7 separate regions of the Homo sapiens genome follow, and regions 2, 3, 4, 5, 6 and 7 are each linked to region 1. The links are contacts of gene promoters, found by promoter capture Hi-C in blood cells and fetal thymus (Javierre and others, 2016). All regions are on one chromosome and are shown on one strand. The core of a region is centred on a gene start or on the middle of the fragment in contact, and the rest is flanking DNA. Distances in the headings are between cores, read along the strand shown.

Evidence for each region. The method cuts DNA at HindIII sites, captures the fragments that hold promoters and counts their contacts. A CHiCAGO score of 5 or more calls a contact.
Region 2: a fragment that was not itself captured here is called in contact with the fragment with the promoter of UST-AS1 in region 1 in 1 of 17 cell types (naive B cells); the score reaches 5.2 in naive B cells.
Region 3: a contact is called between a fragment that was not itself captured here and the fragment with the promoter of UST-AS1 in region 1, in 4 of 17 cell types (total B cells, naive CD8 T cells, naive B cells and 1 more). The highest score is 6.4, in total B cells.
Region 4: a contact is called between a fragment that was not itself captured here and the fragment with the promoter of UST-AS1 in region 1, in 6 of 17 cell types (naive B cells, total B cells, fetal thymus and 3 more). The highest score is 7.9, in naive B cells.
Region 5: a fragment that was not itself captured here is called in contact with the fragment with the promoter of UST-AS1 in region 1 in 15 of 17 cell types (naive B cells, total B cells, megakaryocytes and 12 more); the score reaches 28.9 in naive B cells.
Region 6: a contact is called between a fragment that was not itself captured here and the fragment with the promoter of UST-AS1 in region 1, in 10 of 17 cell types (total B cells, naive B cells, M1 macrophages and 7 more). The highest score is 15.1, in total B cells.
Region 7: a contact is called between a fragment that was not itself captured here and the fragment with the promoter of UST-AS1 in region 1, in 7 of 17 cell types (naive B cells, M1 macrophages, total B cells and 4 more). The highest score is 10.5, in naive B cells.

What each region holds. Positions count from the first base shown.
Region 1 is chr6:148,962,265-148,966,370 of GRCh38, reverse strand. It overlaps UST-AS1 (UST antisense RNA 1), which reads left to right and starts at 1,687. Exons shown (of 3, transcript NR_038408.1): 1 at 1,687-1,810. It overlaps UST (uronyl 2-sulfotransferase), which reads right to left. Exons shown (of 8, transcript NM_005715.3): 5 at 1,808-1,961. RefSeq lists enhancers at 1,646-2,222, 2,223-2,799. The HindIII fragment of the contact is 7,762 bases long and covers 1-4,106 here.
Region 2 is chr6:149,436,637-149,440,742 of GRCh38, reverse strand. No RefSeq gene overlaps it. Among named protein-coding and RNA genes, the nearest start is that of SUMO4, 38 kb to the right of the region's middle. RefSeq lists an enhancer at 1-103. The HindIII fragment of the contact is 9,116 bases long and covers 1-4,106 here.
Region 3 is chr6:149,415,953-149,420,058 of GRCh38, reverse strand. No RefSeq gene overlaps it. Among named protein-coding and RNA genes, the nearest start is that of SUMO4, 18 kb to the right of the region's middle. The HindIII fragment of the contact is 4,936 bases long and covers 1-4,106 here.
Region 4 is chr6:148,535,280-148,539,385 of GRCh38, reverse strand. All of the region lies in intron 16 of SASH1 (SAM and SH3 domain containing 1), which reads right to left. Among named protein-coding and RNA genes, the nearest start is that of SASH1, 190 kb to the right of the region's middle. The HindIII fragment of the contact is 4,264 bases long and covers 1-3,961 here.
Region 5 is chr6:148,569,963-148,574,068 of GRCh38, reverse strand. No RefSeq gene overlaps it. Among named protein-coding and RNA genes, the nearest start is that of UST, 180 kb to the left of the region's middle. The HindIII fragment of the contact is 3,138 bases long and covers 287-3,424 here.
Region 6 is chr6:148,586,832-148,590,937 of GRCh38, reverse strand. No RefSeq gene overlaps it. Among named protein-coding and RNA genes, the nearest start is that of UST, 160 kb to the left of the region's middle. The HindIII fragment of the contact is 1,957 bases long and covers 785-2,741 here.
Region 7 is chr6:148,612,500-148,616,605 of GRCh38, reverse strand. No RefSeq gene overlaps it. Among named protein-coding and RNA genes, the nearest start is that of UST, 130 kb to the left of the region's middle. The HindIII fragment of the contact is 1,483 bases long and covers 1,029-2,511 here.

The DNA.
Region 1 (4,106 bases), core at 438-2,937:
AAACAAATAATAAAGATAATTAGAGAAGACATTATTCTTGTAGTGTTTCTATACTCTGAATACACGTCTCACCAAATAAAAAACATATAGTCATATTCATAACCTATAGTTTTTTATTTTATTTAATTATTATTATTATTATTTTTTGAGATGGAGTCTCGGTCTGGCACCTAGGCTGGAGTGCAGTAGCACGATCTTGGCTCACTGCAACCTCTGCCTCCCGGATTCAAAGGATTCTCCTGCCTCAGCCTCCCAATTCGCTGGGATCACAGGCATGCGCCACCATGCTCGGCTAATTTTTGTATTTTTAATAAAGACAGGTTTTCACCATGTTGGCCAGGCTGGTCTCGATCTCCTGGCCTCAAGTGATGCACCTGCCTCGGCCTCCCAAAGTGCTGGGATTACAGGCGTGAGCCACTGCGCCCGGCCTCATAACCTATAAAGAAATAGATTAGGGTTTCGCCATAAAAACTAAAAAAAAAAAAAAAAAAAAAGGGAAAAGCCACTTTTAAAATATATCATCAAAGGAAGAAAATAAAAATAAAAATAAAATCATCAAAATATTTCACTGAAGCCTTAGGTAGTTGATCAAATACCGAAGGTGAGTGGAAAGCCGTGGGTCTGGTGTAGTCGTCTGGCCCTGGCTGAGACACTAACTTCTCTGTATCTCAGTTTTCTCTACTCTAATCATGGATTTGAAAACATGAACGTGACACTGAGGGGACATCATCCCCAAATGCTCCCAGCCTCTGAACATCCACTTCCATTATGTTTTTAAAATGAGATGAGGAAGCAGCCGTCCTGGCCGTGGCCCTGAGATTCGGTGCTTTTCTCCAGCGGCAAGGCTGCTGCTGACGGCACATCAGCAGTGGCCTCAGCTCTGGGCGATCTTCCAGCTTTGGGAACAACACCTCTGACTGATCCTCAACACTTCCTACTTTCCTGCTTGTGCCCGACAACAGCCCAGGATGGGTCCGGGTGAACCCCAAGGGCTCTCTCAGACACAGAGACCAGGATTTCAGCCTCCTGGGCACCAGGCTGTCAGCTCCTCAGTACATGTTTCTCAACACAGGGATGGGAAATGTACCTTTCGTTCTAGTGCTGAAAGAAAGACGCGCAACTCCGCCCTCCGTTTTTGTTACCAACCTCTGTGCTGCGGAAATAATTACTGGGCTCGAGACTAACATCCCTTATGGAGCTGAGGGTCCCAAAACAAGTCCAGAGAAAGCAAACAATTACTGGTGCAATGACAGGGTTCTATCGCGCTGTGGTGGAAAGAACCCAGACTGTGAAGGCAGGAAACCCGAAACAGTCGGTCGCAGTTGCGCCCTTACCTGAGAGGTGACTGTGGCAAATCCCACAACCTTTAGAATCTCAGGGTCCTCATCTGAAAACACCTCCCCCTCCCAGAGTGGTCATGGGAACTGAATGGGCTGAGGGATGAGAAGGGGCTCTGCCGCCCTCTAACAGACACCCCCCCAACACCTTTGTTCTTCTTAAGCACTACAGTGCTAGTCAGGACTCCTTAGGAAAGACTGTTAACGCTCTGGGTCCCAAAACCTAGCACTAAAGACAACTGAGCAAAGCAAAATCAGAAAATAATTTGAGGAAATGTTCATTAGGATCTGGGTCACCCGGAACCAGTTTCTCTCGCCAAGACCTCCTTCCTGCGGAAGCACCCTCTCTGCGCCACGCTCCATGGAGGCGCCAAGGAGAAGGCCTGGGAAGGGAAGAGTGAACCTTCCCTGGTGGAGGGCCCACTCCTCAGGCAGTGGGGAGACCGCCTTTTGCATGCGACAGGACTTACCAGGTAGCGCTCCTCCTGCCTCATGCTGGGGGTGCGGATCATGTGATTTTGTTCCCCTCTCCAGTCTCCAAAGCGACGGAAAAAATAGTTGGATAAGAACCGGTTGACGGGGTCTCTAATGATGTTGATGTAGACAGGCTGGTCTCCTCCAAACCTAACACAAACATTGAGTTCGTTACAACCCATCACTGCAGGACGAAAACAGGGCCTACTTAGACAACATCTCCCCTTCCCTCTAGGTTAACTTATTGAAAGATGACCTCCTATGCTAAGGTGCCAATGACACGTAATAAGCAAACGGTGTTTCCTGATAAGCATTTTATTATCATGCAGGAAGTGGGGAGGATGATACCTGTTCCAGGTACCTGTTGAGGGGCTGTGAGGACATTTCATAGTATAGCACGGTACAAACCACACCATTGTGCATGTTAAGGAAGAGATGGTGTCTAGTTTTCTCACCAGGCTGTAGGTTTCTTGAGGATGGGGGCCACTCTGTATTGGATTTAGTATTTCCAATGGCTAGAACAGAACCCACAGGGACACAATTGGCCCTCGGTGAATGTTTCAGTTGATTGGTAGGTTCTGACTGCCTTGCTGGGTGAGACGGCACTTCCTCTATATTGTAATTCAAACAGTTCCGGGTCAGGTGCTCTGCAGTAAGGGAGTGAATAACAGCCAGTCTTCACTGAGCACTCGCTATTCACCTTGTTCTAAATACCTCATGTAACCAGCTTGCTGAAGCCCCATAACACGTCAATGGAGTAGAAAAAATAATTATCCTCATTTACACTTGGGGAAACTGAGGCAGGAATAAGGTTCATAACTTGTAGCTGAACTAGGATATGGGTCCAGGCAATCTGGCTCTAGAATCTATGCTCTTAATTATGGAAAAGTGATTTCTGGAGTTGAGGAAATTTTGTGTGGGATATCAAGAATGAAACAAAATTCAACATAATTATCCTCAAGTGATGGCAAGTGGCTTCAGATAAAAATAAAGCAAATAGCCAGGTGTTCCATTTTAATTCCTTCCATGAAAGGATTAGATGAATCCACTAAATCTTGGCCCAAGAACAAGGTCTTCCCGAAGCAGAGTGATGAGATTGGCTGGATTTCTCTTAATGATTCCTTCTTTTTCTCTTTGAACTGCTTGAAAGCAGTAGCCTTGAGGAGTTCGGGGAGAGTGCCCCAGTCTCTGGGCAGAGGGCATGCTCTGGTGACCTCCTGAGGGGCCTGCAGGGTTCTCTAGCCCTATGGCCTCGTGACCTTCTGAGGAATGTGCCTGGACATTCTGTCAGGGGTCAGAAAGAACTAAGAGAAAACAAACTGACAGGACCCCGCTCCTGCCTCTCCCCAGCTGGCAGACTCCATTCACCTTTCAAAACCCAGCCTGGAGTCACATCACATCCCTCAGCAATTAATGCCCAACCCAGGGTCCATGCCTCCCTCCTCTGTGCCCTGGGCCCTCTCTCTTGCACTGTGTGGAAATGTGTGCCTCTCCCATCAGACTGTGGGCCTCCTGCAGCCAGGAACGACACGCTCTAGCTCAGTGTGTGGCACACAGTAGGTGCTCAACAAATGATGACCAAATGAAGAAATGAACATCTGAGTGTGTGCCTCTCAGTTGTTAACGTTTCTTCCCATATCATGGGGCTCTGTTGTCAGAGGAAAGTAATAACAAGCCCCCATCCTTTTCTGTGTATGAATTCATATAATGTTGTTCCTGGTTTATCTGCATTTTTAAAAAGAATCTTCAGAGAGAAGAATCCAAAGGAACAACTCTGAGATAGTGGAATTTCAGGCACCAGGACATATGAATGACACCCTGGAGCCCTTAAATACTACCACATTGGAACACACACTGCTCATGGGTGAGATTAGCCTTGCAATGCGAATCTTGTTAGTTCTCAGAAATACACATTCATGTAACTGGATGAACAACTAACTGGAGTCCCAGGAGTTAGCTGTGCCAACCACCAGCTAACTACTGTACACACCCCAGATTTATCCCCCTTTTAAAATTAAATTGGGTTTCATATCTATGATAAACAGCAACTAAAGTAATAAAGCTAGGGACTAGGAAGACAAGGCTTGCATACCAAATATGCACCTAATTAGACCCTCAAAATTGCTTCATGCTTTTAAAAACCTCAACTGTTCTTTTATGTTCATGTGAAGAATGACTGCTAGTGCTAGTTAGCAGAAATGCCCAATCATGTGAATCCATGCACAGCATCCCATCAGGAGATGGCTCTCAGCCTCACCACTGCCATCTTTGATCAATGGCGAGAGAAGTAAGGAC
Region 2 (4,106 bases), core at 897-3,396, 470 kb before region 1:
ACCCTGTTTCTGAATCACCCCGGGATGCTCACAACAGCCTTTGGGATGTGCGCCATTAATTCCATCTCATAGAAGAGAAAACTGAGGTGCTGGAAGCAACTTGCCAAAGGTCGGTTTTGTATTATCTTTATGGTTACTTAGGCTAAAAAGAATTCGGTGTAAAGAGTAGTATGAATGCATTTATAAATAACTCTAGGGGCTGGGTGTGGTGGCTCACGTCGGTAATCTCAACACTTTGGGAGGTAGAGGCGGACAGATCACCTGAGGTCAGGAGTTCGAGACCAGCCTGACCAACATGGAGAAACCCTGTCTCTACTAAAAATGCAAAATTAGCCGGGTGTGGTGGCACATGCCTGTAATCCCAGCTACTTGGGAGGCTGAGGCAGGAGAATCTGTTGAATCTGGGAGGCGGAGGTTGCAGTGAGCCAAGATTGTGCCGTTGCACTTCCCCCTGGGCAACAGGAGCAAAACTCCGTCTCAAAAAAAAAAAAAAAAAAATCTCTAATCTGCATGAAAGATTGGTTGGTTAGCATTTGAAGGCCCCTAATAGGGGTTTCTCTCTCCAGAGGAGGGACCTTAGGAGCCTAATAATTGTTACAGAAATAGATGCTAGAATCTTGTTAATGAGCAGAAACGACATGAGAAATAATTTTTCATTGTTGAAAAGGGGGATGTTCAAAATATGTGCTTAGCTGGCGCAGGCCTCAGACCTACACACAAACCTGTGAAGGTCTGCCAGTAGTGCTTTGGTCTCTTTCTTTTGCTGGCAGAATGAACTGAGGCTGGGCTAGATGGGGGAAAAGCAAGGGGTTGGTGGACTGGGATTCCAGGCTGCTTTTCAGCTTCTGAGCTGCCTCTTCCCACTGACCTCAGCAAAACAAGATATAATTAACCCCAAATCCCACCCCCACCCAGCTTGAATCAGGAAGAGATAGAAATCTTGAACAGACCAGTAAAAAGCAGTGACATTGAATGAGTAATAAAAAATCTCCCAACATTAAAAAGCCCAGGACCCAGTGAAATCACAGCCGAATCCTACTAGACATTCCAAGAAGAATTGCTACCAATCCTACAGAAACAATTCCAAAAGATCAAGGAGGAAACCCTCCCTAACTCATTCGATGAAGCCAATATCACCCTGATAACAAAGCCAGGAAAGAACATAACAAACAAACAAACAAAACTACAGACACTATCTTTGATGAACACAGATACAAGAATCCTCAACAAAGTTCTAGAAAAGTGAATCCAACAGCACATCAAAAAGATAATTTACCATGATCAAGTGGGTTCCATCCCAGGGCCCTGGGATAGTTCAACATATGCAAGTCAATAAGTGTGATTCACCACATAAACAGAATGAAAAACAAAACCATATGATGATTATCTCAACAGATGCAGAAAAAGTATTCCATAAAATTCAGCATCACTTTATGATAAAAACCCTCAACAAACTGGGCACAGAAGGAACATAGCTCAAAATAATAAATGCCACATACAACAAACCCACAGCCAACATCATTCTGAATGGGGAAAAGTTGAAAACATTCCCCCAAAGAACTGGAACAAGACCTGGATGCCCACGTTCACTACTTCTATTCAACACAGTACTGAAAGTCCTAGCCAGAGAAATCTGGCAAGAGAAAGAAATAAAGGGCCTCCAGATTGTAAAAGAGGAAGTCAAACTATCTCTGTTTGCCATGATATGACCTTATACCTAGAAAACCCCAAAGACTCATCCAAAAGACACCTAGATTTGATAAACGAATTCAGTAGAGTCTCAGGTTATAAAACCAATGCACACAAATGAGTGGCACTGCTATACACCAGCAATGAACAAGTTGAGAGTCAAATCAAGAACTCCACTCGTTTTATAATAGCTACCAAAAAGGCCGGGCACGGTGGCTCATGCTTGTAATCCCAGCACTTTGGGAGGCTGAGGCAGGTGGATCACCTGAGGTCAGGAGTTCGAGACCAGCATGAACAACATGGAGAAACCACATTCTACTAAAAACACAAAATTAGCTGGGCATGGTGGCACATACCTGTAATCCCAGCTACTGCAGAGGCTGAGGCAGGAGAATCCCTTGAACCAGGGAGGCAGAGGTTGCAGTGAGCCAAGGTTGTGCCATTGCACTCCAGCCTGGGGCAAGAAGAGCAAAACTATGTCTCAAAAAAACAAAACAAAAACAAAAACAAAAACAAAAACAAAACAAAACAAAACCTAGGAATATACTTAACCAAGGAGATGAAAGTTCTCTACAAAGAGACCTATGAAAGAAAGTAGATGAAAGAAATCATAGATGACATAACCAAATGGAAAAACGTCCCATGCTCATGGGTTAGAAGAATCAATATTGTGAAAATGATCATACTGCCCAAAGCAATCTCTAGATTCAGTGCAATTCCTATCAAAATACCAAGGTCATTTTCCACAGAATTAGAAAAGCCCTCAACCTAAAATTCACACGGAACCAAAAAGAGCCCATATAGCCAAAGCAATCCTAAGCAAAAAGAACAAATCTGGAACAAAAGAGCAATCCTAAGCAAAAAGAACAAATCACTACCCAAGTTCAAATTATATATTACAAGACTATAGTTGCTAAAACAGCATGGTACTGATACAGAAATAGACACATAGACCAATGCAACAGAATAGAGAACCCAGAAATAAAGCCAAATACTTACATCCAACTAATCTTCAAAAAGCACACAAAAACACAAACTGGGGAAAGGATATTCTATTCAGTAAATGCTGCTGGGAAAATTGGATTGCTGCCTTTAGAAGAATGAAACTGGATCCCCATCTCTCACTGTATACAGAAATCAACTCAAGATAGATACAATACTTAAATCTAAGACCTGCAACCATAAAAATTCTAGAAGAAAACCTAGGAAAAAGTCTTCTGGACAGGCCTAGGCAAAGAATTTATGACTAAGACCCCAAAAGCAAATGCAGCAACAACAACAACAAAAATAAATGGGACCTAATTAAACTAAAAAGCTGCACAACAAAAGAAATTATCAACAGAGTAAACAGACAACCTACAGAATGGGAGAAAATATTTGCAAACTATGCCTCTGATAAAGCACTAATATCCAGAATCTACAAGGAACTAAAATAAATCCGCAAGAAAACAACCCAAATAATCACATTACAAAAGTAGGCAAATGGCATGAACAGACATTTCTCAAAAAAGATCTGCAAATGACCAACAAATGTATGAAAAAATGTTCAATGTCACTAATCATCAGGGAAATGCAAATTAAAACCACAATGTAATACCACTTTACCCCAGCCAGAATAGCCATTACCAAAAAGTCAAAAAACGATAGATGTTGGCACTAATGTGGTAGAAAAAGAATGCCCACATCCTGCTGGTGGGAATGTAAATTAACACAACCTCTAAGGAAAGCAGTATAGAGATTTCTCAAATAACTAAAAGAAGATCTACCATTCAATCCAGCAATTCCACTCCTGCGTATCTACCGAAAGGAAATTCAGTCATTAAATACTAATAAAAAGAAGACATCTGCACGCGTATGTTTATTGCAGCACAATTTACAATTGCAGACATATGGAGTCAACCTGAGTGCCCATCAACTGATGAGTGGATAAAAAAATGTGGTGTCTGGCCGGAAGTGGTAGCTCAGCGGTGGCTCACACCTGTAATCCCAGCACTTTGGGAGGCCGAGGTGGGTGGATCACTTGTAGAGGCCTTGTAGAGGCCAGGAGTTCAAGACCAGCCTGGGCAACATGGTGAAACCCCGTCTCTACTAAAAATGCAAAAAATAGCTGGGCATGGTAGTGCTGGGCATGATGTGATAACAGCACTGTCCTCGGCTACGGGAGCTCCGTGACCCCGGGCCCCGGCACCTCAGGGCTGTCGTTAAGCTCCTCGCAGAGTAAGTCGAGGGGGCACGGTTGTCCCACCTACAGAGGGCACTTTGCTGGCACTAATCTCAGTGTGGCTGTGAGTCCAGGCAGGCTTGTGGCTGTTTTCAGCCCATGCTGGGGGTTGTGGCCCACGACAGTGCTGTTATCACCTCAAAGGCTGTGACAGTGGCTGCCAAACACCCATCGCTCTTGCCCCATGGAGAAAATA
Region 3 (4,106 bases), core at 456-2,955, 450 kb before region 1:
ACATATCCCTAAATAGACTGCAGAAAGGACACTTGGTTCACAGTACAGGAGCTGACACAAGAGGCAGACCATTGTGTAGCTTGACCTGAGATGGGAATATGACCATTGGGTGACTCAAGTTTGTCACTGTTCTACCCATATCTGCAAAGGACTATGAAAGTGCCATGACCATTTTTAGTGAATAGGGAAATTCACAAACGAATCCACAGATAATGATTGACTGTACTTGCATGCTTATTTCTCCTTTATAAGCTCTAAGGTGGTGACTGTCTCTCGTGTCATCAAACACACTGCCTGACCTATGGCAGGAATGTGATACTGAAAAGCATTTGGGGAAAATCATAGAAAAATTAAGCTAGACCCTGTCATCAAATTCATAACGTAACAAAATTTGTTGCCCACCTACTATGTGCCAGACCTAAGCTGGAAGCAGGGTATAAAGCAGTGAAGAAAATGAGAGAATGTGGCTAAGATTAGGAAGACTAGCAAAAGGAGGAAGTAGCAAATTCAAAATGTGAAATTTTTGAAATATAAAGATGATTGTGCAGATTGAGAACTGAGAAATTACTATTGCTACCTTAGCACAAACTGGAATCAAAAGGACAAAATGACAGTTGGCCTAAGGTTTTCAGTGAGTACTACTTATTCTTTACTCGTTTCCAAATTTGGGAGCCCCTTGTTTCTTGTAATGTGAAGCCAGTAGTTACCTGTTAACTGTTAGCATATTAATAATAAACAGAGGCCAGGCGCAGTGGCTCATGCCTGTAATCCCAGCACTTTGGGAGGCCGAGGTGGGCGGATCACTTAAGGTCACGTGTTCAAGATCAGTCTGGCCAACATGGTGAAACCCCGTCTCTACTAAAATACAAAAATTAGCTGGGCATGATGGCAGGTGCCTGTAATCCTAGCTACTCAAGAGGCTGAGACAGGAGAATCGCTTGAACCCAGAAGACAGTGGTTGCAGTGGGCCGAGATCGCGCCACTGCACTCCAGTCTGGGTGGCTGAGCTAGACTCTGTCTCAAAACAAAAACAAAACAAAACATAATAAACAGTAGAAAAGAAAGAGATTATGGTTAATAAAGAGAGCAATACAGGTGGAAGTTTAAAAATCTTTGCTGTGTGTTTTTGTCATTCGATATTGAATATAATCATGCTTTGAGATACTTCATAACAAAAATCACCTATTATCATTCACTGGAATGGAAACTGCATATATTGCTTCTCATTCATTACCTTAGCAGAGCTTGGTTGTCTGGGTTAGCAAATTGGTGTTCTAAGATGTGTATGCTGTTTTATTACAAAAAGAATTTGGCAGTTCAGCAAAAGGGCACGTGAAAGACTTGTGTTAAAAACCAAAAGGTAGTAGTTAAGACTTCAATTCAGATTAATAAAATGTGGGCTTGTTTCATGTCACTCACTCTCAGGCAATGTGTTGGCTATCAGACCCAGTGGAGTTTAACCAGTGAGAGTCCCTGCTCTCTGCTGCTCATCGTTTAGTCAGAAGCCTGTCTCTTCACCTTTCTTGGGAAAGAATAAGACAGGATTTTTACATACTTTGCATTTAATTTTCTTCTTTCTTTCCTCTTCTCTTGACCAGTGTTCTCCAGAAAAATATTCTCCCATGTCCCTCTGCTTCAATTTTGAAGAAAAACAAAAAAGGACATTCATTATGTCTAAGAAGAAGCCACTCAAACACTTTGGTCCATGAAAAAGCAAACTTTAAAATTTGAAGTAAAGTTAGATGTAACAGAGGCCTCAGGTTGAAATGCCAATTTCTGAATTTTCCAGAATATCCACAAAGATCTCTACTTCTTCATCCCCCTCTGGCACCACACAGAAGATACCAGAAACATTATTTTTGGGTTTCATTGTTACATTTATCTATCCCAATAGTATGATTGTGCCTTATTTCAGTTTTCCAAATGCAAAGCGTTCCAGCTAATTAGTGGGCTGGCCTGGGAACCTACTGCTTCTAATACTAGTTCTAGGGGAAAATACATACTACATTCAAAATGGCTGTACCCACTGGTTAACTTGAATAAATGTTAGAAATTAACTTGGCCTTCATGTTAAGAGTCGTTATCATCAAGTCTGGGTGCGGTGGGGCACGTTTGTAGTCCCAGCTACTTGGGAGGCTGAGGTGGGAGAATAGCTTGAGCCTAGAAGTCCAGGATGGGCAAAACAGTGATACCCTATCTTAAATAAAAAAAGAATCATCATCAACTACTGACCTTTTGCCATGTATGAAGTTATTTGCTATGGGGACACAAAGACACACCTGTCCTGACAGTCATACCTTGGAGATATTGCAGGTTTGGTTCCAGACCACCATAATAAGGTGGGTATCACAATACAGTCAGTCACATGAATTTTTTGGTTTCCCAGTGCACATAAAATTGTTTACACTATTCTGCAGCCTATTAAGTGTGCAATAGCATTATGTCTAAAAACAAAATGTACATTCCTTAATTAAAAATACTTTATTGCTAAGAAATGTTAACAATCATCTGAGCCTTCAGCAAGTCATAATCTTCTTGCTGGTGGAGGGTCTTGATGGCCGCTGATTGATCAGGGTGATGGCTGCTGACCGATCAGGGTGGTGGCTGCTGAAGGATGGGGTGACTGGGGCAATTTCTTAAAATAAGACAACAATGAAGCTGGCTGCATCGACTGACTCTTTCTTTCATGAAAGATTTCTCTGTAGAATGTGATGCTGTTTGGTAGCATTTTACCCACAGTAACGTGGAGTCAATCCTCTCAAACCCTGTGGCTGCTTATCAACTAAGTTTATGTAATATCCTAAATCCTTTGTTGTCATTTCAATAGCGTTCACAGCATCTTCGTCAGGAGGAGATTCCATCTCAAGATACCACTTTTTCTCGTCCATAAACAGCAACTCTTTATTTGTTCAACTTTGATCATGAGAGTGCAATTCAGTCCCATCTTCATGCTCCACTGTTAATTCTAGTTCTCTTGCTATTTCCACACCTGCGGTGACTTCCTCCACTGAAGTCTTGAACCCCTCAAAGTCATCCACGAGGGTTGAAATCAACTGCTTTCAAACTCCTATTAGTGTTGATATTTTGACCTCCTCCCATGAATCATGAATGTTCTTAATGTCATCTAAAATGGTGAATTCTTCCCAGGTTTTCAGTTTACTCTACCCAGATCCATTAGAGGAATCACTATCAATGGCAGCTATAGCCTTATGAAATGTATTTCTTAAGTGATAAAGACTTCAAAGTCTAAATTATTCCTTCATCCACAGGCTGCAAAATGGATATATTAGCAGGCATGAAAACAGAAATCTCCTTATACAACTCCCTCAGAGCTCTTGGGTGACCAAGTGCATTGTCAATGAACAGTAATATTTTGAAAGAAATCTTTTTTTTTTTTTTTTTTTTTTCTGAGCAGTAAGTCTCAACAGTCAGCTTAAAATATTCAGTAAACCAAGCTATAAACAGATGTGCTGCCATCCAGGCTCTGTTGTTCCATTTCTAGAGCACAGACAGCGTATATTTAGCATAACTCTTAAGAGCCCTAGGATTTTTGGAATGGTCAATGTGCATTGGCTTCAACTTCAAGTCACCAGCTGCATTAGCCCCTAACAAGAGTCAGCCTGTCCTTTGAAGCCAGGCACTGATCTCTCTTCTCTATCTATGAAAGTCCTGGAGGGCATCTCGACACCTTCTTCCACTCGAAGGCTGTTTCATCTACATGGAAAATCTGTTTCATGTAGCCACATTATCTTAGTTTGATCTTCTGGATAACTTGATGCAGCTTCTATATTGGCACTTACTGCTTCACCTGCCACTTTTATGTTATGAAGATGGCTTCTTTCTGTAAATCTCATGAACCAACTTCTGTTATTGTCAAACTTTTCTTCTGCAGCTTCCTCACTTGTCTCATAGAATTGAAGAGTGTTAGAGCCTTCCTCTGGATTAAGCCTTGGCCTACGGGAATGTTGTGGCTGGTTTGACTTTCTATCCAGGTGATTAAAACTCTTCATATCAGCAATAGGCTGCTTCACTTTCTTATCACTTGTGTTCACTGAAGTAGCACTATTAATTTCCTTTGAGAACTTTTCCTTTGTATTCACAACATG
Region 4 (4,106 bases), core at 580-3,079, 430 kb after region 1:
GACTTCAGAGAGTCAGAAGAGGAAGGGTGGGGGGAGTCTAGGGATAAAAAAACTACACATTAGGTACAATGTATACTACTCAGATGATGGGTGCACTAAAATCTCAGAATTCACCACTATATAATTCATCCATGTAACCCAAAACCACTTATACCCCCAAAGCTACTGAAATAAATAAAAAATAAAATAAAGAAAAAAAAAGGAAGACCTCATTCTGAGGAAGGCTTTTAAAGAGAAGCATCATTATTTGTCAACTGTGCCTCAACAAAGCTGGAGGGGAAAAAAAAAAAAAAGCAGCATCGGACGCTTCTGTTGAGTGAATCTGCCCCAAGTAAATCACGTGGAAAGCCACGAGGGCCTTCAACACCCTAGCAGCATCACCCGGCATGTTGTAGAAAGGGCACATGGAGCCTTACATGGGACACTGAGGTTACACGCAGAACATCTTTGCATTATTATGCAGAGTAAGTAAGTGCTTGGTCACATAAAACAGAAACCAAGAAAACATTTTCTACACAAAATAGCTAGTTGCAATGATGAATGGCTTTATTTTCCTTTCTTTTCATCCCCCACCAACTTCCCCACTCCAACCACATACACAAAGAAAAAAAGAAATCAATAAGCCAGAAATGTGATGCCTTTTCTCAGGTCATCAAAATAAAAATGCGGGGAGGCAGAAGGCTCTGGCAGCTCTCCGGCTGTCCACCACTTCCTGCTTGCATTTCTCACGGGGAAAGCATTTTACAGCCCCAACTACAGCAGAGATCGTGGCAGCGTAAGTCCCTCAATTAGAATCCCAAATTAAGAGTGCTACTTTTAAAGTGACTAATGAAAAATTAACTAATTGGAAGCACAAGAGCAAATACTGTCCCCCTGACCACCTAAAAGTGGAACATTCTAGAGCGGTGTCCTCACTGTGTGGAAGAGCCTGTGGCTTTGCAGTGGCCTTTGTTCTGGCCTAGCATGTTATTTAGAAAAATGATACTTATAAAATGAGGGCTTTGTGCTATCCATTACAACCCAGGGAGAGGAGTCGGTGTACTCTGTCCCTGGTGACATGGTTCAGTGCACCACAGTGGCCAAAACAGACTCCAGAGTGCTGGGTGGGAGTAACACAGAAGACCTGCTCCTACTGCAGCATGGAAGTATGTGCTGTGCCTGCATCTTTGGGGACCCCAGCCTCAGCAGACACAGCAGAATACCTGAAATTATTTTGGAGAAGGAGGGGATCCATTGTGTCACCTGAAAACCACAGTTGGCGTAAGGAAGGGGGCTAGAATCGCTGTCTTCATTAGGGAGAAGAGAAAAAGAGGTGAGGTGCCTCTCCTCTGTAGTGCAGAATCAAGACCATGACCTTTTCCCACACTTGTCAGCGTGGGTGCCAAGGTACAAAAGGTAAGAAGGAAGATAAGCTAGAACGCTGAAAATTCTCACAGTCAAATCACAGCAAAGTGCTAGGTTGTGAGGCTGTAACCCCATTTGAGCATGACCTGAACTTTGACCTGAAGGGACTCTGCTTGGGCTAAGCTCTCTCTGCCTCCAGCCTCACCAACCACACACACACACACACACACACACACACACACACACACACACACACACACACACAGAATATGCTAAGACACCTATGAATATTCCAACATCAAAAGGTAGTGGTACCCAAAGGCACATAGCATTGCCTGGGGAGCAGTTACCTTGGGAAAGAAGAGAAGGGAATGGGATTCTTTGAAAGCAGGACTTTCTGTGGGCTTACACCATATTTCTTAAAATGTAAAAGAAATAAGAAAATATGGCAAAACATTAACTTCAGCATGTGCATGCATATGTTTGTTTGTTTTCTTTTCCTCTGTACTTTTCTGCATGTTTGAAATAATTCCTAATTAGAATTCTTATACAAGTTATTGTTTATACTTAGAAATGGCTAAGACAGTAAACTTTAGATTATCTGTATTTTACCACAAGTAAAAATTCTTTTAGCAATTTGTAAGAGGCTTTCATTTGCCAGACCTAAGATAGTGGGTCTGGGCTTGGCGTAAGGAATAGCCATCTGACAATTAGAGTCTTTTCCCAATGGAACCCTATATGATGGCTGGCATTTTCCCACGCTTCGAGGGAGGCTGGACGGGTCTGACTTCCAAGTAGTGCTGGAAATGTACTTTTTGCTCTCAGTTATGGCTAAGCTAGAAACCTTTCAAGATCCCTACATATCTTCAAAGATCTCAATAGACCTCTGCATCTCCCTAGTGTATGGAAATCTTGTTTGACAGAAACCTATCATGTTATCAGTTAGAGGCACTACTTCTTAGCCACGATGACTTTAACTGTATTGGATGTAAAAATCCTATAATGCTAGGAAAAGTCTGGACCCTGACTCTTGGCACTAATGGGTACTCTGGAACCTTGAAGCCTTTGTTTTAGAACCAATAAAAGGAAGTACAACTTTATCTATCAGGGACGTTCTAAACACCAGAGCAGAATAGATCCACAATGGAATGTCTGAAGAGGCAAAGAGGTCTTCTTCACCTTCCAGGTTAGCAACCTGATGGATAGCGATACCCTCCTACAAAATGCTCCTTGGTACAAAAATCTCAGGATGTGATCCCAGGAGGAATGATGGGTCTCAGCCAAAGTGGCATGGAGCAGTCTAAGCACAGATTCCTGCCTTACACTCAGGAGTTAGCTTTTCTCCTCCAAAGCTGTGGATGATAAAGGAAATGTCATGGAGAGTATATATAAACCAGCTGTTGGTTGGATGCAGTGGCTCACACCTGTAATCCCAGCACTTTGGGAGGCCGAGGTGGGCGGATCACCTGAGGTCAGGAGTTTGAGGCCAGCTTGGCCATCATGGTGAAACCCCGTCTCTACTAAAAATACACAAATTAGCCATGCGTAGTGGTGCATGCCTGTAATCCCAGCTACTCGGGAGGCTGAGGCAGGAGAATTGCTTGAACCCGGGAGGCGGAGGTTGCGGTGAACCAAGATCGCACCACTGCACTCCAGCTTGGGCAACGAGAGTGAAATTCTGTCTCAAAAACAAAACAAAATAAAACAAAACAAAACAAAAACCCCAGCTGTTCTTGGTGACTGAGGAAGAGCAAGTGAGCTGTTTCTGGGCAGATGTGGTTCGGGACAATAGATGCTTTAATACTGATTCATACTAATTGAGCTGGTAGGCTACACCAGTTACCGTGCAGGCTCTTTACACGCAACCTGGCCACAGACCCCAAAGTGTCTCTTGGGCAATCAAATACTTACTTAAAAGACCTTGTTATAAAGTGATATTAACTATGAATCACAATTGCCTCCAAATCTATCCCAAATCTATCCCTAAAGGCAGCCTGTTTATCTTAGGCTCAGACATCTATCTGATGGTGTGTGTTTCTCTAGCTTACCAGTTCATTTAGAGGGACTGCCTATTTAGCAGAAGGGAATTTCACCTAATGACACTTGCTTCCACGTTTCTCAGGCCTGATACATTTCAGTAATGTATAATTCTTTTTTCCACCATTAACCATGGTTTTGGTGTGTCTTTTAGCAACAGAAATGCTATTAGCTACTGATATCCCTGAAGCAGAGTCCTTGAAGGAAAACGTGTTTGAATTCAGTAACTGGAAAGGATACTCCTTTAAGATGAATGATTTCAGGAATATTTCTGATGGCAGATTGAATAATACAGAGCAAGATAAGACTGAGTTAATGGAGCAAAGGGTATGGTGTATTCAAATAGACAGACTTCATAAAAGCTGTGAGCTCAGTGATGATTCTGCTCACAGGCTGTAAAAATAAGCTGTCATTTAGGTTGGGAATTTGCAAGCCAATCGATACGGAATTCTCTGCTCTACATATTCACTGCGGAGAGACGTCTCCTCCTTTAACGAAAGCTGATGAATTTCATTTATTCACTAACCAGTCTATTCAATAAGAACACAACTCCTCGTGTGCTCTGAGAAGTAATCAAGCTTTGGCTGAGCGAAAACCTCCCAGCTGGTCAGTCACTTTTGTGCTCAGCTGTCCCAATGGCCTGCTGGAGGCTGCACCTCTCAAAAGTACTGAAAGTGGAGTCTACCCATTTTTTTGGGAAAACTGTAATTCCATTCTTGCAGACA
Region 5 (4,106 bases), core at 606-3,105, 390 kb after region 1:
CTTGATCACAGAATCACAAAATGTAAATCAAGATTTTCAGAAACAATGCATCCATATATAATTAGAGCCCTGTCAAGAAAAAATGGCATTTTTATTTGGTAATACATCAAGGGCTTTTGGTACCGTTAATAAAGTAAAACAATTTATTTTCATTATTGTTTATTTTGTCTTCATCTCATACTTTTAAATCTTGTTTGTTTCATAATAGGTATTAGTATAGTAATACACTTGAACAAAATTTGTCAGTAAATAAATGCATCTATATCTGTGGTATGTATTCAAAGCTTTGTGTAATGCATGTAAGGTCAAAAAAGTTTGGGGAGCACTGAGATTATAAGCTATCATTTTTTCAGGGTTTTTTTATTAGACAGGGTCTCGCTCTGTTGCTGATGCTAAAATGCAGTGGTGCAATCATAGCTCACTGCAGCCTCAAATTCCCAAACTCAAGCGACCCTCCTGCCACAGCTTCTCAAGTAGCTGGGACTACAGGCACACACCACCATACCCAGCTATTTAATTTTTTTTCTTTTTAGTAGAGATGAGGACTGCATTACTGTGATGAGGTCACACCATGTTGTCCAGGCTGGTCTCGAACTCCTGAGCTCAAGTCATCCTCCTGCCTCAGCCTTCCAAATTGCTGGGATTACAATTGTGAGCCACCACACCCAGCCACTTTTCAGTGTTTGCATAGGAAATTCTTGGACTAGGGATTGCTCTGTCTAAGATGGCCTAGAAGGAGCCACATTATAGCCTTACTGCTCCTCCCTGTTCACAGCTATGGTCTTAATATCAAATGTGAATTTACACACTTTATCTCCTTTAGTTCCATGAGGTAATAATTAGCTGTGTTTTACAGATGAGAAAATTGAGAGTCTCTCGGTTTAGTAACTGGGGCTATATTTAACTATAAGTGAACCCAGGTCATACTGACTCCAAAGCACATGTTCTTATTATTACCCTGCCTTGAGTTTCCATAAGAGTAGGACTTCTTACAACTCAATTTTTCATTCCATGCATATTCTGCTTTACTATCCCTAAGACGTATAGTTTTTTGACACTTGAAAATCTCAGAAGTTAGGCTGCATCTTATAACTGAGGGGGTCTCAGCCCTGCTCCTGCCCAAGTGGCAGTCCTAATGCAGGAGTCGCTGTCTGTACACATGGCCTGTGCATGCTTTCTGACATTCTGGGAGCGTGAACGGTCTACTGTAACTGCACGTGGTTTCAGCCCACAAGCAATTTAAGGACATGGGAATCCGGCGTGTTGAGAAACATGATCTTTTTTCTAGGTTTAACACCGTTGCTTCCTTTAACCATTCCTAATGGGGTTTTCCTAATAAACCATGCCCAGTTTATTTCATGTCTTTGTTCCATTTCTTTCATCTGTATAGAATGTTCTTCCCTCATTCTCTTTCTGGTTTGTTCTCCTCCAAGACTCAGAGTTCAAGAGTCAGATTTAAGAGTTACCTTCACACTAGGCACGGTGGCTCATGAGCTTGAATCCAGGAGTTTGAGACCACCCTGGGCAATATAATGAGACCTTGTCTTTATGAACTTTTTTTTTTTTGAGACAGGGTCTTGCTCTGTCGCCCAGTCTCGAGCGCAGTGGTGCAATCATGGTTCACTGTGGCTTCAACCCCTCTGGGCTCAAGTAATCCTCCTATCTCAGCCTCTGAAGTAGCTGGGATCACAGGCGCATTTCACCACATTCAGCTAATTTTTTTAATTTTTAGTAGAGACAAGGTCTCACCATGTTGCCCAGGCTGCTCTCAAACTCCTAGACTCAAGCAATCTACCCACCTCAGCCTCCCAAAGTGCTGGGGTTACAGGTGTGAGACATCGCATCTGGCCCCCCAAAAATTAAAAAATTAGCTGAGTGTGGTGCTGTGAGCCTGTAGTCCCAGTTACTGGGGAGGCTGATGTGGGAGGATTTCTTGAGCCTTCAAGGCAGAGGCTGCAGTGAGTCGAGATTGTGCCACTGCACTACAGCTTGGGCAACAGAGTGAGACTGTCTCAAAAAAAAAAAGAGTCACGTTCTTGGTAAAGCAGTCCCACAGCACTTAACTAACACAGGTTTCTCCCCTCTCAGTGTCCACTATCACACTTTCAGCTCTTAGAGAGGGGGCCTCAGCCATCGCTATGGCCCTGAACATATAGAACATGTGTAGGTACCACCCTGGACCCTCATAAAGCCTTCATCCCACACATCCCAATCTCTCTCTCTCATGCCCCACCCACTAGTTGAGCTTGCATGTCATGGACGGAGCCCCTTTCTTCCTGTTGGCCTTGCAGTGTGCCCTTCAGTGTGCCCTGCAGGGCAGCGTGCCACTGCCCTGTTCTGTCTGCGATCTGTATGTGATGAACTGCTTCTGTTTCTTCATGGGCTCTGTGCAACTGCTCTTCTGTGTCTCCCCTGACTTCTCTCCTGCTCAGGGCTCTCCTAGAGAGCGGCCATCTTGGTGGGAATAAACTGCACACAGGTCAGACAGAAGCCACAAGGGGACCTACCAGTATCAACAGGTGTTCTGTGAGAGGGACCCCTGGCCGTGGGTCACACATTTAAGCATTAGGTTGTCTGCCAGAATAAAGAGGTACTCCACGAAAGGCTCACTGTAAACATCCATGATGAAGTTCCCTGGAGCGCTTCAAGGGCAGGGCTAAAGTTTGTGGCCACTCTCCTGAGAGAGACCACAAGACCAAATTAGAGTAAAACACAACACCTACTGACCAGGGTGTCAACGGTGAAGGGGTCAAAAACACCGCTAAAGAATAGCCTAAGGCTGAGAGTCCTGAAGGAAGAAACACACTTCAAAGGGGGGCCGATTTGTGTCCCCCAGAATACATGCACTGAAGTCCTACTGAGAAGGTGACCTTATTTGGAAGTGAAGCCATCACGGATATAATTAATTAAGTTAGGATAAGGTCATGTGGGAACAGGGTGTGCCCCTGATCCAATGTGACTCGTGTCCCTTATGGAAGAAGGAAATGTGGACACAGACATGCACACAGGGAGAACACCATGTGCAGATGAAGGCAGTGATCGGGATGTTTCCACAAGCCAAGGAATGCCAAAGATTGCCAGCAAAGCCCCAGAAGCAGGAGCAGAGTCTCTCTCCCAGCCCTCTGAAGGAACTAACGCTGCCCATACCTCCTACTTAGTTATGCAGCCTCCAGAATGGGAAGACAATGCATTTTTGTTGTTTAAGTCAGCCAGTGCGTGGTACTTTGTTACACCAGCCCTACAAAACAACTGCAGAAGCCTCCTTCCCCAAAACTGCTAGTCAGGCCTCACTGGGAAGGTGTGGCTGCTACCCGATGGATGATAGATTAGTTTCCTGAACTGACCCAGGTCAGAATTGGTCCAAGTCACAGGGCTGAGCTGGCAGGAAACAGCCACTGCCTCTCTCAGGCTGGCAGAGGAAGCTTCCAAAAGCCTCCTGCTGGTGCCCGTGGGCTGTGGCTGATAGGCAGGAAAGGGCAACATGGAACTCACTAAGAACTGTAGGGTGCCACCGAAGCTTGGTTCGGGGAGTACCAGTGGATGCCCACCTCCTATGTCACTGGTAGCCGTGCAGGAGGAGCAATGAGAAAGGAAAGGAAGCGTGCTGGGTGCTAGGAAGAGAAGCCCCTTCCTCCTGCATTGGTCCCGCCAGTGCCCTGTATGCACACACAAAGGAGAAACTCACAGTGCTCGGCTTCAGGGTGGGTAAGCGACAAAGAGTCCATTTAGAGCAGAGGGGCAATAAATTGATAGCCAGCTCACCCCTTCTTCCCTTCAATGTATTTAAAGAATATAAAACAGAATGTATGATTTTGAGAAGGATTTGTTTCCACCAAGGAAGTGGCCAAACAAGGGCTGGGGGGCCACATGGCAAACCTGTTCTCCACGGGGGTTCTTAAGATTTTTTTGGTGCCATGAGCTTCTTTGACTGTCTGGTGAAGCCTGTGTATCTTTTCTCAAAATAATGTTTTTAATATGCATAGTCTAAAATACATAGAATTACAAAGAAACCAATGAAATCAAAACAAAGTAATGTAAATTATTAAAAAAAAAAACAAATTTGTGGCCAGTTGCTGTGGCTCACGCCTGTTATCTCAGCACTTTGG
Region 6 (4,106 bases), core at 514-3,013, 380 kb after region 1:
TATTCTCAATTTATTTGGAGAAAATAACCCAATTTCTGTATTTGATTTTTTTAAGTTGCATATCCAGGAGGGCTAAATGGCAATAGATAATTTTTTTTTTTAAGCAAATGACATTTTCAGAATAGAGTAGCCACATGTCCCAAGACAGAATCCACATCATTTACTGCCTGTGCCAGTGCCATGGCTAGGCAATCTGTGAAAGTCTCCCCTTTGTTTTTCTTCTTTTTCCTGTGTGCACCCCTATTCTTTCCCTCTGAACCTTATTTCCTCCTCCCCACCAGTTTCATTTTCACTTTTGTGTGGTTCCATTCTCACCTGTTTTGGGCATGAATGGACAGGGGCACCACAGACATCACCAGCCCCCCTCACTTTGGTGGCCCTTGAGCTGAAGGAGGAAAAAAAGCTGTTTAGTGGAGCTGAGAGGGGGCTGGGCACAGATAGTGCCTGGTTTGTCCCAGCCCCGACACTTTCCAGCTCTAGTTGACCCAGGACAACTTTGCTGCTCATTTTTCCCACTGGTTAAGGTCCAGGTGTATACAGGAATACGTTGGAGATATTGTGGGTCCTGTTCAAACCACTGCAATAAAGTGAATGTCACAAAAATGCACGTCACAAAAATTTTTTTGTTTTCCCAGTATATCTAAAAGTTATGTTTACACTATACCACAGTTTATTGTGTGCAAAATCATTATGTCTAAGAAAACAATTCACATACCTTAATTTAAAAATGCTTGATTGCTAAAAAATGCTAACAATCATCTGAGCCTTTGACACATTGTAAGCTTTGCCAGTGGAGGGTCTTGCCACAGTGTTGATGGTGGTAATTGTTGCTGAAGTTTGGGTGGCTGTGAGGCAATTTCTTAAAGTAAGACAACAATGGAAATTGAGGCATCGATGGACTCTCTCTTCCTTTTATGAAAGATTTCTTTGTAACGTGAGATGCCATTTGATAGCGTTTTACCAATAGTAGAATTTCTTCCAAAATTGGAGTAAATCCTCTCAAGCCCTGCCACTTCTTCATAAACTAAGTTGACATAGTATTCTAAATCCTTCATTGTCATTTCAACAATGTTCACAGCATCTTCACCAGAAGTAGATTCCATCTCAAGAAACAACTTTCTTTGCTCCCCATAAGAGGCAATTCCTTATTCATTCAAGTTTGATCATGAGATTGCAGCAATTCAGTCCCATCTTCAGGTTCCACTTCTGATTCTAGTTCTCTTGCTGTTTCTACCATATCTGCAGTGACTTCCTCCACTGAAGTCTTGAGACCCTCAAAGGTACCTATGAGGGTTGGAATCAACTTCTTTCAAACTCCTGCTAATGTCAGTATTTTGACTTCTCATAAACCACGAATGTTCTTAATTGCACCTAGAATGAGAAATACTTTCTATGAGGTTCAATTTGCTTTGCCCAAATCCATCACAGAAATTACTATTTATGGCAGCTGTAAGCCTTATAAAATGTGTTTCTTAAATGATAAGAGTTGAAAGTCGAAATTACTCCTTGATCCATGGGCTGAAGAATGAATGTTGTATTCACAGGCATGAAAACAACATTTATTTCCTTGCACATCTCTATCAGAACTGTTGTGTGACTAGCTGCATTGTCAATGAGTGGTAATATTTTGAAAGACATCTGTTTTTCTGAGTAGTAGGTCTTAACAGTGGGCTTAAAATATTCAGTAAATCATGCTATAAACAGATATGCTGTCATCCAGATCCTGTTGTTTCTTTATATAGCACAGGTGGAGTAGATTTAGCATAATTCTTAAGGGCCCTAGGATTTTCAGAATGCTCAATGAACATTGGTTTCAACTTCAAGTCACCAGCTGCATTAGACCCTAACGAGAGTCAGCCTGTCCTTCAGTGCTTTGAAGCCAGGCATTCGCTTCTCCTCCTATGAAACTCCTGGATGCCATCTTCTTCCAACAGAAGGCTGTTTAATCTACATAGAAAATCTGTGGTTTAGCCGGGCACGGTGGCTCACGCCTGTAATCCCAGCACTTTGGGAGGCCGAGGCAGGAGGATCACGAGGTCAGGAGATCAAGACCATCCTGGCTAACATGGTGAAACCCCTTCTCTACTAAAAATACAAAAAATTAGCTGTGCGTGGTGGCGGGTGCTTGTAGTCCCAGCTACTCAGGAGGCTGAGGCAGGAGAACGGCGTGAACCCGGGAGGTGGAGCTCGCAGTGAGCCGAGATCGCGCCACTGCACTCCAGCCTGTGAGACAGCGAGACTCCATCTCAAAAAAAAAAAAAAGAAAATCTGTGGTTTAGTGTAACCACTTTCATCAATGATCTTAGCTGTCTCTCCTGGATAACTTGATAACTTGCTGCAGCTTCTACATCAGCATTTACTGCTTTACTTTCCACTTTTATGTAATGGAAATGGCATCTTTCCTTAAACCTCATGAACCAATCTCTGCTAGCTTCAAACTTTTCTTCTTCAGCTTTATTACCTCTCTCAGCCTTCATAGAATTGAAGAGTTAGGGCCCTGTTCTGGATTAGGCTTTGGCTTAAGAAAATCTTGGGGCTTGTTTGATCTTCTATCCAAACCACACAAACTCTCCATGTCAGCAATAAGACTGCTTTACTTTCTTAACATTTGTGTGTTCACTGGAGTTGCACTTATAATTTCCTTCAGGAACTTTTCCTTTGCATTCACAACTTGGCTAACTGATGCAAAAAGCCTAGCTTTCAGCCTATCTCAGATTTTGACATGCCTTCCTCACTAAGCTTAATCATTCCTAGCTTTTGATTTAAGGGTGAGACTTGTAACTCTTTCTTTCACTTGAACACGTTAAAGACATTGTAGGGTTCTGAATTGGCCTAATTTCAATATTATTGTATCAGGGAATAGGGAAACCCAGCAAAAGAGATATAAGGGGGAACAGCAGATTGGTGGAGCAGTCGGAACACATACAACAGTTATTGAAGTTTGCCCTCTTATCTGAGCATGGTTGGTGGTACCTCAAAACAATTGCAATTGAAACATCAAAGATCACTGACCACAGATTATCATAATAGCTATAAAAATAGTTCAAAAGTTTGAAATATGGAAGAATTCAGTGGTCTACAGTCAGAGCTCTGATCTCACCCTGGGACAGGGCCTCCTGTGGGGAGGGACAGCCACCATCTTTGTGGTTCAGTCAACTCAGTGGTTCCAGCCTGCCAGCTTTGGAAAGTCCAAATGGTCCAGATAAGAAAAGTCTCCCAGTGCAGCACAGCCACTTTGCCAGATTGTGGCCAGACTGCTTCTTTAGGCAGGACCCAGATCCATTCCTCCTCACTGGGCAGGACCTCGCAGCCAGAGCTTCAGCCACTCCAACCAGTTTTCCATAAACAGAGCTCTAATTTCCCCCTGGAACAAAGTGCCCAGGGGGTGGAGCAGGCCACCACCTTGGCTGTTTGGACTTCTCACTCAGCCCAGCCTGTGGGTCCTGGAGACCCCATACCAATCGGGGCTGAAGGGATCCCCAACACAGCACACCTGCTCTACCAAAAAGCAGCTGGATTGCTTACTTAAGTGAATCCCTGATCCCATTCCTACTGACTTGGTAAGACCTCCCAATACGAGTCTCCAGCCACCTCTTACAGGCACACTTGGGCTGGCGAAAGGTCAGTATCCCCCTGGGATGGAGCTTCCAGAGGAAAGGGCAGACTGCCATCTTTGCTGTTTCACAGGTTTCACTGGTGATACCTCCAGGTAGAGGAAAAACCGAGGCAACTAGGGTATTAAATAGATCCCCAATAAACTGCAGCAGCCCTATGAAAGAGCAACCTGACAGTTAAAAGAAAAACAAACAAACAGAAAACAACGACAACAACATCAACAAAAAAGACCCCACAGAAACCCCATTCAAAGGTCAGCAACCTCAAAGATCAAAGGTAGATAAGCCCACAAAGATAAGAAAGAATCAACACCAAAATGCTGAAAACTCAAAAAGCCAGAGAGCCCTTTCTCCTCCAAATGACCACAACACTTCTCCAGCAAGGGCTCAGAACTGGGCTGAGGCTGAAATGGCTGAAATGACAGAAGTAGACTTCAGAATATGGATAATAATGAACTTCACTGAGCTAAAGGAGCATGTTGTAACCTAATG
Region 7 (4,106 bases), core at 521-3,020, 350 kb after region 1:
ATCTGCTCCTAAGCCCCGTTTTTCTCCTCCTCCTTCTGCAGGTTCCTACCTTCCCCTCTCTGCTTCATCACTTCTCAAAGCACTGCTACAGAAAGTTGATATTAAACTTAGAGTTGTATTAAGATATTAAACTTAGAATCATGAGTTCTGATTCTGAGACTCTCCAGGTACTAGAACTGTCCCTGGAAACTTACCCCTCCTAAGAACTAGGAAAAAGTTACTTCCAAGCATTGGAGAAATTCAGATTGTTCTTCAGCTGCCTTAGGAGATAGTTTAATGTTCCCTTTTATCAGACCCCAGAAGCAAATCAGTAATGGAGTCCCAAATTAACCTTGTCTTTTTGATTCAGTATGAGCTGGGCCCATTGGAATTACTGTCAACCAAGGCCCCCTGGCAAAGACAGGCCCTAACTCAGATCTGGGAGGCAAAGTTAAGACCAGAGGTCTCCCAAGCTTAGGGCTGGCCTACATTAATTGCTTGCTTAAATCTTCATTCTTTACATGTTCTTCTTCTTCTGCTCTGTTCCCTGGACACTCGTGAGGCATTGGAAATTGTACAGCAAGCAAGAACCTGTAGAGAAAAGGGACAAGGAGCCGTGGGAATAAAGTGGCCAACCACAAAATGATCATGATACTTGATGACAAAGGAAAAGGGACAGCTCTACAGGAGATGAAAGAAGATTCCATCCAAGCTGTGGAAACCTTATGAGCAAGAGGAAAGTCTGTGAATACAAGAAATATGGCAAGCCTGAAGCCATATCTGACACATGGAAAGTGGCCATGGCAGGCCCACAGTGGCCGAGTGGCATCCAACTGGCCAGGCTTCACTCACTCAGTCTCAGCAGCCCTGCCAGGACCACGGAAGGTGGCTAAGGATGGCTCTCCAATCAAAGCTCACTGGATTGTCAAGAAATAGAAACCCACTGAAGCTAGCTCAACTGCAGAGGAGATTTATGACACTGAGATGCGTCTTGGAATCTAAGGTTGGTAAACAAGATACAAACCCTGACTTCTAGGATCTGCAAAGCTTCCAGGAATAAAATTTCCATTTGTCTGTGCCAGTGTGGCCTCTTCTCTTGACTTCTCACTCTATGCTTCCTCCACCCCCTTCTCTCCACAGGTTCATTTCCTCATCAGGCTCCATGATATTCAAAATGCTCACTCTAAGTCTGAGGTTCCCATGACTTTCCTGCTTCTAAGCGCTCTTGACTGATCAAAGTCTCTGTATAAAATAGTTTGAATTTTGAGAAAATGAAAGAAGGAGAATTAATTCTTCCTGGGAGACTTGGTAAAATCTTCAAAGGAGCTGATTTACTGCTATGCTTGGAAAAACATACTGAGTTTTTACAATAGATAAGCATGGAACAGCCTTTTTTCAAAGCATTTTGATATTTGAATCTCCCAACAGTGCCATGAAGTATGTTGAGCAGATTATTTATATTATATAAAAGAGAAAACTAAGTCCTACAAAAGGTAAATTAATTGACCAAGGCCATGTAGCCAGTGTGGGATAAATTCCAGACTAGATCCAAAGTTTTCTGACTTTTAATTCACTGCTTTTTCTATTTGTTCATGTGTAGACATGAAAGAATGGGTCTCTTTCATTGCCACTGATAAAATAAAAACTTCAGCTGAATTAAATTTAAAAGAGTTCAATTGAGCAATGAAAGATTTGTGAATTGGGCAGCCTCCTGACCCAGAGTATGCTCAGAGACTCCAGTGCAACCATGTGGTGGAAGACAATTTATGGACAGAAAAAGGAAAATGATGTACGGAAAAGGGAAGTGAGGTACAGAAACAGCCAGATTGATTACAGTACACCGTTTGCCTTATTTGAACATGGTTAGAACAGTCAGCTACATTTGATTGGCCAAAACTCCATGATTGGCACAAGTGTGGGCTACGGTCTGTGTACACCTCCATTTGTTATAGTTCATGATGCACAGAGAAACCTTTAGGCTGAACTTAAAACATTGTCAGGAGGCAGCTTTAGGCTAAACTTGATTTAATACTATCAATAGCCCTAGAACTGGGACTGATACTACTATAATTTTAACTTGCCTTTCTCAAGTTCAATCTCTGTCACCTCCTTTGCAAAAACTCATATATTTGTAGAACATATCTGTCCAACTCATGATGGGAAACCAATGCCATATTTAAACAATTTGATTTGGGAAGAGTTTAATAAAGAGATTATTTAGAGGTGCAGGCAGGGTTTAGGGGAACCAACAAAGAATAGTGCAGGATTCCCAAACTGGCAACAGCACAGATCCATCATCACTACCCCTTGGTCTGAGGGGCAAAATGAGAGCCGAGTCACCAGAACATCGAGAGGGTAGCACGGAGAAGTCACCTGGTAAAAGCTGTGGCTTTCACAGAAGGACGCAGCCAACCCCTGCCAACAACCACCCTCTCTTCCAGCTTTCAGAACTCCTGCCAGTGGGCCCACTGATTCATTGGCTGATTCCACTGGAAGCCAGAGGGTATGGGGAATCCTTGTTGACATTAAGCTTCCTAAGGCAATAGAGAGAAACTGAGGCTGGAGAGGCAAATGACAAACATCCAGTACAGGGAATAAGGGGAGAAATTCAACATGGGAGGCCAGGCGTGGTTTCTGATCTGTTTTGTGTCACTCTCCTTTCTCACCCACACAGGCCTCTAAAACTGCACTAACACATGCATACACACACGTGCACACACACCCCATTCTCCTTCTCCTTTCCTCTTGCTGTTTCCTTTTATATTTTGGAAATCTGACCATTCAAGTCAGTGCCCTGGGTTTTCAGCCAGGAATCCACTCCAGGTCAATGGAGCCAAATCAACTGGTCTCTTGGTCATTGCAAGTCCTGAACTGAACTTGAGGATGCATGCCTGCCAAGGTGAAGGATGAGTTGCAAAGGAAGCACTTATATAATTCTATAGTATTCCAAACCCCGTCCTTTTCAAGACCTTCTTGGTATTGTCAGAGTGGCAGCTCTATGGGATCATTTTGAGGAAAACATCTTGGCGATCCAGACTGAGGTTTTTCATAAGCTCTGGCTGGGTGAGCCAGTGACACCATTGTGGACCAGCTGCAACCAATCTGCTGTCTTCCATGCCAGGCCGAGGGGCTAAGGTGGGCCAATCTGAATTTGTTATGACAGATCAGTGCATCACAACAGTCAAAAGAATGCTCTTAGAGGGCACAACCTGGAAATATTATCTTTCTTCTTCTTTTCTTTTTTGTCTGTTAATGTAACTGGGCATCCAAAAGTTTGTTTTTGTGGATAAGTAATTCCTTGATTTATTTTGCTAACGAATGAAGTTTGCCTTAATTTCCACTTCTGAAAATTTCATAGAGAGATGAATTATATTTGTGACCTTATCCAGTGACATTTTTCCTCTCAGAGTCTTGATAGGAAAGGCAATTTTATTATAAGATAGAAAAGTGACAGTTTAAAAGGGATGGGAAGGTAGTGGTATTTATTATATATCATGATTAATTTTACAATATCTGATACTTTAACAACTGTGTGCCCATTAGAGTAAACCAAAATATTATTATTATTATTATTATTATTATTATTTTGAGACAGAGTTTCGCTTTTGTTGCCCAGGCTGGAGTGCAGTGGCATGATCTCGGCTCACTGCAACCTCCACCTCCCAGGTTCAAGTGATTCTCCTGTCTCAGCCTCCCGAGTAGCTGGGATTACAGGAGCATGCCACCACGCCCGGCTGATTTTTGTATTTTTAGTAGAGACGGGGTTTCATCATATTGGTCAGGAAGGTCTTGAACTCCTGACCTCAAGTGATCCGCCCGCCTTGGCCTCCCAAAGTGCTGGGATTACAGGCGTGAGCTACTGCACCCTGCTGAGTTAACCAAAATATTATATTCAAATAATACTGAAACGATGTTTCTTAAATAAGAGGTCTCAACTCAATGGTGGGCAGGTGGGATGATCCTAGAGAGTTATCTGGTGTGCCTGAAGGTGTTTCCCCATCCTCTACCTCATGGCTGCCACCCCAGAGCCCCTCATATCCCTTCTGGCCAGTTATTCCTCCCAGGGGGAGGCTGCCCATTCATGTGAGACTTTCCTCAGTCCTGTCTCATTGCTTTTTACTTCTCCT